Regions from separate parts of the Homo sapiens genome. Here region 1 is linked to region 2. Evidence: promoter capture Hi-C in human tissues and cell types (Jung and others, 2019). All regions are on one chromosome and are shown on one strand. The core of a region is centred on a gene start or on the middle of the fragment in contact, and the rest is flanking DNA. Distances in the headings are between cores, read along the strand shown.

What was found. The method cuts DNA at HindIII sites, captures the fragments that hold promoters and counts their contacts. A contact is called where the count stands out against the background at its distance.
Region 1: a fragment that was not itself captured here is called in contact with the fragment with the promoter of ZNF335 in region 2 in 1 of the 25 tissues and cell types used here (spleen).

The regions. Positions count from the first base shown.
Region 1 is chr20:44,951,740-44,958,478 of GRCh38, reverse strand. TOMM34 (translocase of outer mitochondrial membrane 34) reads left to right here. Exons shown (of 7, transcript NM_006809.5): 2 at 1,994-2,093; 3 at 3,259-3,411; 4 at 6,477-6,646. LOC124904912 (a long non-coding RNA gene) reads right to left here and starts at 3,263. Exons shown (of 2, transcript XR_007067599.1): 1 at 2,859-3,263; 2 at 1-142. The HindIII fragment of the contact is 7,243 bases long and covers 1-6,615 here.
Region 2 is chr20:45,969,547-45,976,536 of GRCh38, reverse strand. ZNF335 (zinc finger protein 335) reads left to right here and starts at 4,334. Exons shown (of 28, transcript NM_022095.4): 1 at 4,334-4,415; 2 at 5,077-5,327; 3 at 6,846-6,990. The coding sequence starts at 5,127. It also overlaps the pseudogene FTLP1. RefSeq lists enhancers at 718-1,254, 3,713-3,932 and a silencer at 4,703-4,822. The HindIII fragment of the contact is 24,986 bases long and covers 1-6,990 here.

The sequences.
Region 1 (6,739 bases), core at 1,745-4,244, 1.0 Mb after region 2:
GGTTGATGCCCTTTCCACCGCACCACTGCTGTTTCTGAGCAACCGTACTCTGGTGACTCAAGATGGATTACAGGTTTTGGGTACTTAGCTCCTTAAGGGCAAGGATGTATTTTACTAGTCTTTGTACTTTCCGTCTCTGGGCCTGGCAAAACAAGAGGGGAAAACGCTTGTTATTGTTGGTATTGAATGAAAGATATCAAATATCAACATGGCAACAGGATACTGAGTGAAAAAAGTAAGTTGCAGAAGGATAGGCAATATGATGCCTCTTAGGAAATGCTTTAATAGACATAAAATGGTATCTTTCCTGTTAACACACACACACACACACACATATATATACATATACATATATATACATGTACATGTATACATATATACATATACATATATACATATATATGTAAATGTAGAACATGCTTGAAAATGTTACATACCAACTTCAGGATTGTACTGGCCTCTGTGAGTCTGGGGAGGGAGCACAGGGATAAGGATGGGGATGGCTGGAGTTTTAGCTTATCAAAAAAATTTTTAAGGGTTGGGTGCCATAGCTCATGCCTATAATCCCAACACTTTGGGAGGCCAAAGCGGGAGGATCACTTGAGGCTAGGCATTCAAGACCAACCTGGGCAACACAGTGGGACTCTGTCTCTACAAAAACTTTAAAAATTAACTGGGCTTGGGGGTACACACCTGTAGTCCTATCTGCTTGGTAGGCTGAGCTGGGAAGATCACTTGAGCCCAAGAGTTTGAGGCTGCAGTGAGCTATGATTGTGCTACTACACTTCAGCCTGGGCAACAGAGGGAGACGCTGTCTCTAAAAATTAAAAAAGTTGGGAACTAATATAACGTGCTAAATCTAGTGGTGGATTCTGAGATAATGGTCTTCTGTATGTTTCAAAATTTTCAAAAAGAGACCCTGTTTTCAATTCTTTTTAAAATAATGGCCGACACTAGTGGGTATGAAGTGGTTGAAAATTATCTTTAAAAATAAAGATCATTGTTGGTTGGGCACGGTGGCTCACGTCTGTAATCCCAGTACTTTGGGAGGCCGAGGCAGGCGGATTGCCTGAGGTCAGGAGTTCAAGACCAGCTTGGCCAACATAGTGAAACCCTGTCTCTACCAGGCGTGGTGGCGAGTGCCTGTAATCCCAGCTACTCAGGAGGCTGAGGCTGAGGCAGGAGAATTGCTTGAACCCAGGAGGTGGAGTTGCAGTGAGCGGAGATCGCTCCACTGCACTCCAGGCTGGGCAACAGAGCAGGACTCTGTCTCAAAAAAAAATACGTAAATAAAGATCATGGTGGCCACAGTGAAGGACTTGAGCCTCTGCGATTCCTGAGGGTAAGGACTGCCTTAGAAGAATGTCTAATAATTCTCCCCATGGGGTAGCTTAAGACTTTTTCCTGATTAAGTTCTCTGTACTCCCATCACACCCAGCTCAATTATCATTTCCCTGACAAAGTCCTCCCTGGCTTGACCAGGTAAAACTAGTCTCATGTCTTTCATGGGTGTTTTGTGCCCCTACAACTTTTGGTCAATCCATTTATCATACGTTTATCATCTTGTTCCCTCCCTCCCTCCCTTTCTTTTCTTTTTTTTTTTTTCTTTCTTTCTTGGATTTAAATGCTTTTTGTAATAAAATACACACCTATCCATCCATTTATCCACCCAAACCCAAGTAGTTACAGCATGGATTTCTTTGAGGCAGAAGCTAGCTATTTCTTGTTTATCTTTTGTCTGTTATCAAGTTCAGTGCTGGAATGAGTGAATGAGGAAATACTTGGTTCCCTTTGAATGGCAAAAAGCGCAGTGTCCTTCTGTCACATAAGAATGACAAACACGCCAGCCCAGCAGACCAACAAGCCTGAACAGGTTATAGTTATCTCTACTGCCTTAACACAAGGCCCAAAGAGCTCTGAGTTTGAAATGTATCCTAATGCCCTGAGGCACCCATTTTCCAAACTGATCATCTTCCCCACTCTATCTGGGCAGGTTCTTCAGACCCAGAAGAAGAAAGTGTTCTCTACTCCAACCGAGCAGCATGTCACTTGAAGGATGGAAACTGCAGAGACTGCATCAAAGATTGCACTTCGTAAGTGGCCAAGGGTAATTTTGGGATGCCTGAGGGTCTCAGAAGAGGAGGCTGGGTTAATCTGGCTTGTTTCTTCTTTGGAAGGATCCCATCAATTACATCTGGGACAGATATTAAGAAAGTGTCACTGAGTTTCACCAGGTCACTGAGAATGGGAGTCTTTATTTGGTCCTTATGGCCCGTGACTTGCATCTTTGGAGTCTTGGCTCTGCTGCCGAAAAAGGAGTGGGATGGGCAGTTAGAAGCAGGCCGTAAAGTCTTTGTGCAATTTGAAACCTGGGAATAAGGTGGAGTGGCAGACCAGTAACTGGCTTGCCCAGGTGCTTTTCTGGGATGGGAGTATGTGAGGGGAAGGGAGCGAAGGAAAGAAGGAGGAATAGAGGTTAATAGATTGTCTCAGAAGGAGAAAGGAAAAAAATGGTATTCATGAATGACCAGTTTTAGAGGACACTGAACAATGTTTCATATCTCTTTTTCTTCAAGCCAGTCTAATATTCTTTTATCATCATTAAACTCTCACATTTACCTGAAATGTGTTCTCAGATCTGATGTCCTCTGACATTGCTTTAGATTCCTGCCCTGGTGATAGCCAGGAGAGCAGGAGGGGTGTGAGCATACTCACAGAGCCTGTGCTGAATTAATTTGTGCCATGCCTTGTGCCAGATTTCCCTCTTTGAGTGTTCACAACCAATCTGTGGGGTACGGTTACCATGTGTCCCAGGCCAGAACTTGGTTGCTGAGGGTTGGGGCAGTAAAGTGATTTACCTGGGTCACATAGTTAGCAGCAGAGGTGGAATTCAGACACCACCCCATCTGACTCCAAAGCTTGTTTGTTATTCCCACTAGACCACAACTGTAAAAAAACATAGTAGCATGAAAGCCATGAGGCTTTTGTTCTTGATTTTGGGGGAACTGAAACTATGAAAATTGATGCATGTGCACACACATTTAACAAAATTCATGTTTCTCTGCCTTCTTTCTCCTCCTCACTTCAGTCTACGTTGAAAAATCCCTGTTCTGAGGTTTGGCGTTTTTAGCCATGTCTCTCGGCCAGAAATTACTTCCTGTACGCTGAGTGCTCCAGATAACCCTGCCTGGAAGAAACTGTAGGGAAACCCTGGTGGCTCAGCAGCCAGCCAGTTGACATTTTTGCCTCCTATTCTAGAGCACTGGCCTTGGTTCCCTTCAGCATTAAGCCCCTGCTGCGGCGAGCATCTGCTTATGAGGCTCTGGAGAAGTACCCTATGGCCTATGTTGACTATAAGACTGTGCTGCAGATTGATGATAATGTGACGTCAGCCGTAGAAGGCATCAACAGGTGAGCTCCATTCCCAGCAGGTGGTCTCCACGGCAACTCCCTGTCCTTCTTGATTGGCTGCGGGCCATTGCCTTGTCTGTCTTCTGAGGGGATCCCTTTGGCTACACTTAAAAAACTCCCGATGGGCATGTAGGGGAAGCTGAGAAAGGAAAATCTGCTTTTTTATTTAGCAGGTTTTCAGGGAGTCAATTACTAAGATTGATTGATTGATATTTGCCTACATGTGCCTCACAGTATCTATGTACACAGTAATATTTATTGTACACTGTTTAAGGTGTTGTGCCCGGTTCAGTGGGGGATACCAAAATGAGAAAGAGATACAGACCCCACTTACCTTCAAAGCGCTAACGCTAATTAGAAGAATAAGACACAAGCCCAAGCAGCTATGACAAGCCTAAAAGGATATGGTTTGTGGACATGGTTCAGTATATTGCACTGTGACCAATCCAAGAGGTTCCCCAGGTGCAATTCCTTTCTGGTCTCTGAGCAGTTATTGGCTTTTATCTCATGGATATTGTCATTTGTATAACTGATCATGTTTCCCCTCTGCGTGTGCGGCTAGAAAGCCAAACACTGCACTAATAGCAAACCCTTAACAGGGACTTCATGGTATGTATTTAGTGCTTTATTTCTGGCTTGACTTGTCTGCCAGCATTCTTTGTTTTCTCTTTGCCTCCTTTTTAACTTATCTGATTCCACAAAATCTACCAATTATGTGACAGACTTTGCTCTAGGACCTGGGCTGATGACTGAGACATACCTCTTCCTGCCGTCATAGAGGTCCCGGTCTCAAGGAAGACACCAGTCAGTAATAGGCAAGCACAATACAACATGATAAGCGCCATGGTAGGAGGCAGCACAGGGGGCTCTGAGGCCAGAAAGGAGCCACCTAGCTAGCTGAGAGGGAGAGGGGGAGGCCAGAGAGAGCTTTTCAGAGGAGGTGAGCTAAGAATGAGAGATATGGGGTAGGGGGTTAGCCAGAAGACAGAGCAGCGTGTGCAAAGGTGAGCAAGTGTGACAGATCACAGGAATTGTAAGAAGTCGGTTTCACATGGTGCTGCAGGCAGGAGCTCAGCTTGGGACAGGTTGGTGAGGCCAAGTCACACAAGACCCAGGGTTCAGGGCTTGGACTTAATCCTGAGCAAGTCAGCCTTTATGAAAAGGTCTTTAGCAGTGGAGCAACATGAGCAGATTTGTATTTTAGAGAAAAGCTCTTTGCTGCCATGTTGAGGGATGATATGAAGGGCAACAGAATAGAAAGGAGTCATGCAGCAATCCAGGGGAGAGGGTGGAGAGAAAACAATGGGACCAGTCAGGGGACATGTAGGAAGTATATCAACAAGCTTTAGTGGTTGCGGGGTATCGAGAAGGGAGGAATAGAAGAAGACACTCAGATTATTGACATTCAGTCGGAGGTGACTGTGGGACATAAGACTAGAGATCTAAGTAGGACGGTTGGGTATTTACATGGAACAAAGGAAGAAAATACAGGCCAGACATAAGGATTTGAGGGTCATCAGCGCAGAGGTGGATTAGGGCTGTGAGAAAGAAAAAGAACATCACAGCTAGTGTGAAGAGGATGGAGCTTTGAGAAACTCCAGCATTTGAGGGACTTACAGAGGAACAGCAGCTAGAGAGGTGGGAGGAAACAGGGCATTGATGTCCCAAGGGAAGGAGTATTTCAAGAAAGATGGAGACATCATTAGTGTCAGGTGTTCCAAGGAGCTTACATTAAAGGTTTGGCAATGAAGTCACCGGTGGCTCTGATGGAAGCTGGTCAGTGGGATCAGGAGCCAGAGGGCAATGCTTTCAGAAAGTCAGGCTTGAAGAGAAGCTGGGGAGTATACCTGTGATGGCAAGGGGTGTCCAGTATGGTTTTATTAGGTGAGGAAAGAGTTAAAGGGACTTAAATGCTGACGGTTGGAGTTAGTAGAGAGGAAGGATGAAGATGTGGGAGAGGGAGGTGCTGCCTGGGTGTGGTCCCTGAAAGAGGCAAGAGGAGATGGGATCCAGAGCTTAGGTGGGTGGATTGGTCCCATTGTCTCTTCTGTTGTGACAGGAGAGAAATAGGAAGGATTGGGCACCCAGGCAGGTAGGTTTGTATTTGGGGTATGAGGAAGTTTGCTCTAAAAAAGGGGAAGGGCCAGGGAACAGGTTTGAGGAGAGCAGAGGTTTGAAATAGCTTGGCCGCCAGGAAAACAGCCTAGCCAGAGACATCTTGGAATTTGTAGTGATACAGTCTGTGGTTTTTATTCTTGTAATATAGGAAACATGGTTGTAGGAGCAGAAAAAGTATACAGTTAGCATTATTCACTCATTCAACACATAACTGATTGGGCCTTGGTGGTTGCTAGGTGACATACCAGGTGCTGGAGATCAGTTGACAGAATGAACTTGGTCTCTGGGTGGCATTTTAAGCTGAAATCTAAAGAATAAGTTGGAGTTAGCCGGGCCTGGAAGGTGGCAATCTTTTTCCAAAATGAAAATGGTTGTTCTGGGTAGAGGAAAAAGCATGTGCAAAGTCTTGAACAGAAGGATCAGAAGAGAATGTGGCTCACAGTGAAGGGGGACAGGAAGGGGTGGGGACCAGATCTCACATGCCACATTAGCCTAGGGAATTGGGAACCCCTGAGGAGTTGTAAGATTTGAGAATGACATAAGCTTTGCATTTTTTAAAAAGCCTGAGCATTAAACAAATGTCAGGTGCTTGCATGGTTGTGTACTTGATTCATTGATAAAATATGAAACAAAATGTATGATTCTTTCTTGGAGAAACTATAGTCTTTTTGGATCATGGTTTAAGTATCCTTAACAAGCAACAGATCACCACTTTAAAGGTAACATAGTTTGACCAAGCTCAAGGAATGTCATGGGGACTGATCTGAGATGGTGTTTATGGGTTCCTGTATTGCACGTGTTGGAGGAGCTAAAGAGGTGGTTCCGACCAGGGGGAGGGTGGCAGCTCTGGCTCTTCTGAAAAGGCCTACCTCCCATGGGTGTGTGAAAGGAGAAATATCTTCTTGACCCAGCTGGAAACCTCCCTGCAATCCTGCCTTCTTTTCCAGAATGACCAGAGCTCTCATGGACTCGCTTGGGCCTGAGTGGCGCCTGAAGCTGCCCTCAATCCCCTTGGTGCCTGTTTCAGCTCAGAAGAGGTGGAATTCCTTGCCTTCGGAGAACCACAAAGAGATGGCTAAAAGCAAATCCAAAGAAACCACAGCTACAAAGAACAGAGGTGAGCTGTGACTCCCTGCCCAGAGTCTTGCAATCTCCCACTATCCATTTTCTTTAGAGTAGTCCTGCAAAAATTGGCATTGTTTAGCTGAGT
Region 2 (6,990 bases), core at 3,085-5,584:
TCTTGAACTCCTGACCTCAAGTGATCCTCCCGCCTTGGCCTCCCAAAGTGTTGGGATTACAGACGTGAGCTACCGCACCCGGCCTAAGTGTATGATTACTATGGAATGAGGCAGACCTGGTTCCATATACCAGCTCCATCCTCCTGGCTGCATGACCTTGGAAAAGTCTCTTCCCCTCTCTGAGCCTCAGCCGCCTCCTCTCTACAGTGGAAGATGATTTAACAACTCCTGTTTCCTTAAGATACCATGACTCCTCAGCAGAGTCACATTGGGCAGTCCCACGGATCTGTGTCTTGCTTCAACAGTGTTTGGACGGAAGAGATCCTGGGACTTCCTCTCTTCCAGCCTCTCACCATCAATCTCCTCTCCACTTGCAACCTCAGGGACCATCTTTTTAGCCACCTTCTGCTTCTGGGTCCAGCCAACACCATTGTTTGTGGTTAGCTCCTTCTTACCAGCCCATGAGCTCCCAGATTCGTCAGAATTATTCCACTGAGGTGGAGGCAGCCGTGAACCACCTGCTCAATTTGCACCTGCAGGCCTCCTCATCTGCCTCTCTCTGGGCTTCTACTTACACTGTGACGATGTGGCTTGGGAGGGCGTGGGTCACTTCTTCCACGAATTGGCCGAGGAGAAGCGCAAGGGTGCCTTAAAGATGCAAAACCAGTATGGCGGCTGCATTCTCTTCCAGGACATCCAGAAACTGGCCCAAATTGAGTTAGATAAGACCCTGGACACGGCTGGACGTGGTGGCTCATGCTTGTAATCCCAGCACTTTGGGAAGCCAAGGCAGGTGGGTCAGTTGAGGTCAGGAGTTCAAGACCAGTCTGGCCAACGTGGTGAAATTGTATCTCTACTAAAAATACAAAAAAAATTAGCCAGGTGTGGTGGCACACGCCTGTAGTCCCAGCTACTAAGGAGGCTGAGGTGGATCGCTTGAACCTGGGAGGCAGATGTTGCAGTGAGCTGAGATCACACCACTGCACTCCAGCCTGGGTGACAAAAAAAAAATAATAATAAATAAATAAATTTTAAAAACCCTGAATGCCACGGAAGCCGCCATGGCCCTGGAGAAAAATCTGAACCAGGCCGCTTTTGGATCTTCAAGCCCTGAGTCCTGCCCGCACAGACCTCCATCTCTGTGACTTCCTAGAGAGTCACTTCTTAGATGAGGAAGTGAAACTCATCAAGATGGGCGACCACTTGACCAACCTTCCCAGGGTGGCTGGCCCCCAGGCTGGCCTGGGTGGGGTTCTCTTGGAAAGGCTCACCCACCCTCAAGCACGACTGGGAGCCTTAAGGGCCCCTCCCAAAGTATCAGGGCTTCTGCCTAAGCCTCTCCCTCCAGCCACTAGGCAGCTTTTTAATTACCCTGGAGCCTTCTTCCAAGCCTTGATCCAAATGGAAATAAAGCTCTGTGGAAGCAAATTAAAAAAAAAAACAAAACATGACTCAGAAAGCACACACACTGCCTGGCATCTTCCCTCCTCTTTCCCTCTTGGCTCTTCTACATTTTTCTCAATGGTCCACTTTAATGTCCTCTGACCCAGAGCCCCTTCACTGCTTCCATAAGTCTCTCTAAGCTGGGGCCATGGAGTTCGAGACCAGCCTGGGCAAAATAGCTAGTCCCCATCTTTATAAACAATTTTTTAAAAGATAAAACAAATTTTAAAGAGAAAACAAAAAAATAAAGCTGAGACCAGAACTAGACTGCACTCTCTGGAGGAACAAACCCTGGATTCACAGGCAGAATACAAGGATTTGCCTGCTTGTCTTTGTGATGGAAGGGTTCTGGTATGTTGTTTCCAAGGAGCCGAGACCTTGGGCTGTTAGCTTTCCCCCTCTGGGCCTTGGGCTCCTCTTCGGTTTCATGATGAGTCTGTTTCATCTGTACCATGACATTCTGCAATCTTGTGATGCTGTGGCAAAGGCCAGGATTAAGGTTGAGTCTTTTTTTTTTCTTTTTAATAGACAGGGTCTCACTCTCTCACCAAAGCCAGAGTGCAGTGGCGCACTCATAGTTCACTGCAGACTCTACCTCCTAGGAGGCTTCAGTCTTAGTGGGGAAGGGAATGAGGGTACTGTGGGGCTACTTCGGAGTACCCCAAACTTGGGAGAGGTGACTTGGTCAGATGTAGGATGCACCCTACTACCCTACTGGCATGAGGGGGCAGATGCTTCTGTAGGGCTGAGGAATGGGGTCCACACGGGAAAACTGCCTGGAGATAGTAAAACCAACATGTCATCATGCCAGTGCTGACCTAGCTCTTCAGAGCTGCTCTGGGGCCTGGTCCTGCTGGTTGCAAGGGATAGGGGATGAGGGTCCTAACCTATCCAGAGGCCTCCTGTTCCATTCCCTCAACCCAAAAGGGAAACCTAGGAAAGAAAACTTTACCTAAGAAAAGGACCAGATGAATCCCCTCATACACAAGTGCACACAAATAACAGCTCAAAGCACCCTTTGTCCTTTTTATTTTTATTTATTTATTTATTTTTTGAAGCGGAGTTTCTCTCTTGTCGCAATGGCACAATCTCGGCAACCTCCGCCTCTGGGCTTCAAGCGATTCTCCTGCCTCAGCCTCTCGAGTAGCTGGGACTACAGGCGCGCGCCACCACACCCAGTGAAATTTTGTATTTTTAGTAGAGACAGTTTCACCATGTTGGCCAGGCTGGTCTCGAACTCCTGACCTCAAGTGATCCACCGGCCTCAGCCTCCCAAAGTGCTGGTTATTACAGGTGTGACCCACCGAGCCCGGACCTTTTCTCCTTATTAATAGGTCTTCTCCTTAGGACTTTTTGTTTGTTTGTTTGAGACAAGAGTTTCCGCTGTTGTTCCCCAGGCTGGAAGGCAATGGCGTGATCTCGGCTCACCGCAACCTCTGCCTCCCGGGTTCAAGCTATTGTCCTGGCTCAGCCTCCTGAATAGCTGGGATTACGGCATGCGCCACCACGCCCAGCTGCTTTTGTATTTTTCGTACAGATGGGGTTTCTCCATGTTGATCAGGCTGGTCTCAAACTCCCAACCTCAGGTGATCCGCCCGACTCAGCTTCCCAAAGTGCTGAGATTACAGGCGTGAGCCACCGCGCCCAGCCTGCTTAGGAGTTTTTTTGAGATTTTTTTCCCCCAAAATTTGTATCTTTCAATTAAGGAAAATAGCCTATGGAACTACAGAGACTTAGGGACAAAAACCAGAGCGCCTTACTCCCTCTTGTGCTCTTCCACTGCAAACTGCTAAAAGTCTTAAAACAGAAGGTGACATTTCCGGAGGAAGGACATACCTTAAGGGCAGCTGACTTTTAATTAAAATTTTTTTTCTTTCTCCACTTTTAAAGGATAGGTAGTTGACTTGTATTTATTTATTTTTTGAAAGAGGGTCTCGCTCTGTCGCCCAGGCTGAAGTGCAGTGGTGTGATCACGGTTCGCTGCAGCCTCAACCTCCCAGACTCAAGCGATCCTCCCACCTCAGCCTCCCGAGCAACTGGGATTATAGGCACGCGCCACCATGCCTGGCTAATTTTTCTTTTTTTTCTTTTTTTTGTAGAGATGGGGTCTCGCTCTTTTGCCCAGGCTGGTTTGGAACTCCTGGGATCAAGCGATTCTCCTGCCTTGGCGTCCCAAAGTGTTGGAATTACAGGCGTGACTCACAGCGCCCGGCCTCAGCTCTATTAATGTTAACAAATATGTATACAAACCTAAGGGACAAGCATTAACTTCTTTCCATTTCCCCGACTCCTGCCATCCGTACTTAGCTCCTGAGTCCCTTTATTGGATGTGATTTTGGACCAGCCCTTCCCATACCCAGACCTCAGTTTCCCTATCTGTACAATAATTATACATTCCCTTCCCAACAAAACACATCAAACCTAACGGGCAGAGCTCGATTGGGTTGCAGCAGCGCGCTAAGTAATAAGTAATGAGTCAGGTAAAATGACTGACAACATGAATTCCTCTTTGGCCAAGCCAAAGTCGCCCGCGGCCACACGCTCTTCCGGGCTGTTGTAGGAGGGGCGCGGCCAAGCCACCGGGAGCCACGCCCCCCACTGGGAGCCACGCCCCAAGAGAGCGGGGCGCGCATTCGCCGCGCCCAACCCTGCGGCCTAGGGAAGGGACCAGAATGACGTCACAACCACTTCCTACGTAACACTCCGCCGAGATAAAGTAGTCCCCAAACCATAGTGGGCTCAGTGCCAAACACCGGGCGACGTATAAAGTCCCAGAGTCTGTTGAGACCCGATTATGGTTTTGAGGCCTCGGAGCGACCTTCCGGAACACTGAAAATGTGTCTTTCCCGGGGCCAGCGGGGGAAGTAGTTCCGGCCTACAATAGGCCGATGGGTTCCTCCGCAGCGGAGGAAAGAGGATGGCGACCTCGTCGATGCCGGAGTCAGAGAGGAACGTGGCTACGAAAGCCTCGGGTGAGCTTCGGGTAGAGTTAGGCGGCCCCACCGTACCCTGCCGTGGAGTGAGGTCACACTGCGGGGATACCCGGAGGCGAGGTCCCAGGCCGGCGGGGCTGTCCGAACAGGGCCCCGGGGTCCCAGGCCCTTTAGTCGCTCTCGCACTTGCCTGAGCGGAAACCCGGCGCCACCACAAGATGGCGTCGGGCCTGGAGCACAGGCAGCGCCGGGGACAGCCCCAAATCGCCAGGCCCCGAGACCGTCGCTGTCAGCCGCCTCCGCAGGGGAACCGGGGGGGAGCGAACCACTGACCCAGGGGGCCAGCGGGCTGTACCACCGGCCCTGCAACCCGGGGGGACGCGGGGGCCGAAGGGCTGAACCACTGGGCCCGGATGGGGCTCACAGAGCGGAACGCTCCACGAGAATCGTGGGGGCGAGGGAAAGGGTCAAGATTACCAGCCATTGACCACCCTCCCGGGAAGGGCCTTAGCCTGGGAAGCACAGCTTCTCCGTCAAGTTTTTCCCGAGCTCCCCTCGCAATACACCAGGAAGCTCCGCCCCGTCGGAGACTCAATCTTCGCATCTGCAAAATGGGCGCAGGGGTGCAAATGGGTGGCCGTGGTTGCCGGGGCTGGGGAGATGGCCCACTTGTTCCAGCCACGGTCACCTCTCTTCTCAGAGTGAAGTTCCCAGACCCTACGCCCCGCTGTCAGGCAGCCCGCCGATCAGATGGAGGAGAACGAGGTGGAGAGCAGCAGCGACGCGGCCCCTGGGCCTGGCCGGCCCGAGGAGCCCTCTGAGAGCGGCCTGGGTGTGGGCACCTCAGAAGCCGTGTCCGCCGACAGCAGCGACGCCGCGGCCGCCCCGGGGCAGGCAGAGGCCGATGACTCTGGCGTGGGGCAAAGCTCGGACCGCGGCAGCCGTTCTCAGGTATGGACCCGGCTGGACGGCGTGGGTGGAGGCAAGGACCGCGAGCAGCAGTGCCTGACAGCCAAGAGGAAACAAGGCTTGTTTGTAGCTAATACTTGGTGTTTCTGGTTTACTGTGAGCCAGGCACCAAGCCAAACCCCTAAAATGGATTTTCTCATTTGAGCTTCATACCTTCTAAGACACATACCATTTTTTCCCACATCTTATAGAAAAGGATGCCGAGGTACAGAGTGCAGACAGAGCCAGGATTCAAATCTAGGCTGTGGTCTTAGCTACTATACTACCCACAGTCCTCACACTTTGAGAGGCAGATGTCTAGGCCAGGAGTGGTAGCTCATCGCCTGTAATCCCAGCACTTTGGAAGGCTGAGGTGGGAGGATCACTTGAGCCCAGGAGTTGGAGACCAGCTTGGGCAAATAGCGAGACCTCATCTCTACAAAAAAAAAAAAAAAAACGCAAGTGCCCTGGGTTAAGACTGGGTCCTGCCTCCAGTTTACTGGGAGACCTCTTTGAGCCTCAGTATCCCGGCTAAAGTAAAGCAGAAATACTTGCTTTCAAGGGTGCTTGATTGTGAGCTCCCACCAGACATCCTCTTGCAAACATTTTGTAAACCATCTCCTCCTGGCTGTGCCACTTCCTAGCCGTGTGATCTTGAGCAAGCTACCCAACATCTAGCTCTGTTTCCTCGTCTGTAAAGTGGGAATGGTAAATATACCTGCCTCATAGAGTTTTTGTGAGGATGAAATGAATTAACATATGCAAAGCTAATAATTAAAACAGTGCTCAGCACATTGTAAGCACTCAGTAAGTATTAGCCATTCTTATATGCAAGATAATGGTCATATTCAGTATATCACGTGATAGAAGTACACAGCAGTGGTCATCACTTTGGGGTCCTGGGGTTTCATTAGTTCAGCAGAGATGGGGGCCTACCATGTGCTCAGCGTGTGCTGGGCCCTGGAAATACAGCAGAGGAAAAGACAAGTTTGGTCCAGGCCCTTGTGGAGGGCACAGTCTGGCATGGAGGCTGTTAAAAGGCACAATGAACCCCACAGTGGTGTGGTGCTGGGGACACAGGCAGCTGCAGCACTGAGGATGAAGAAGTCCTGACTTGGCCTCAAAGCCAGCATTGACTTCCTAGAAGAGGTACCAGCTAAATGGTGGTGAGAAGGCTGGGTAAGATTTAGCCATAGGGTGATGCTGGGAAGAGTTTCAGGCAGAGGGAACGATTTATGCAAAAGCCCAAAGAAAATAGCTCCCCCTGGCTGTGGCTTAGGAGTCCCTTCTCTTATTTTTGTGTATTCCCTGATGAGATCCAGGGACCCTGTGACTTTTTCCTGGGGGACTCTGTGACTGGAGGGCCTCTCTCACTGGTCCTCCGTGGGGCTGAGGGCATGAGTGGCTCCACTGACCATGTCCTTGGGCCTGAGAGCTCTGTCTAGCAAGTGGGAGCTGGCAGGCTGCCCTGCCCCATACCCAGCTGCTAAACTTTTTCCCTCCCTGTTTCATGCCCCTCAGGAGGAGGTATCTGAGAGCAGCTCGAGCGCAGACCCCCTGCCTAATAGCTACCTCCCTGATTCATCGTCTGTGTCTCATGGGCCAGTGGCAGGGGTGACAGGCGGTCCCCCAGCACTTGTGCACTCTAGTGCACTCCCAGACCCCA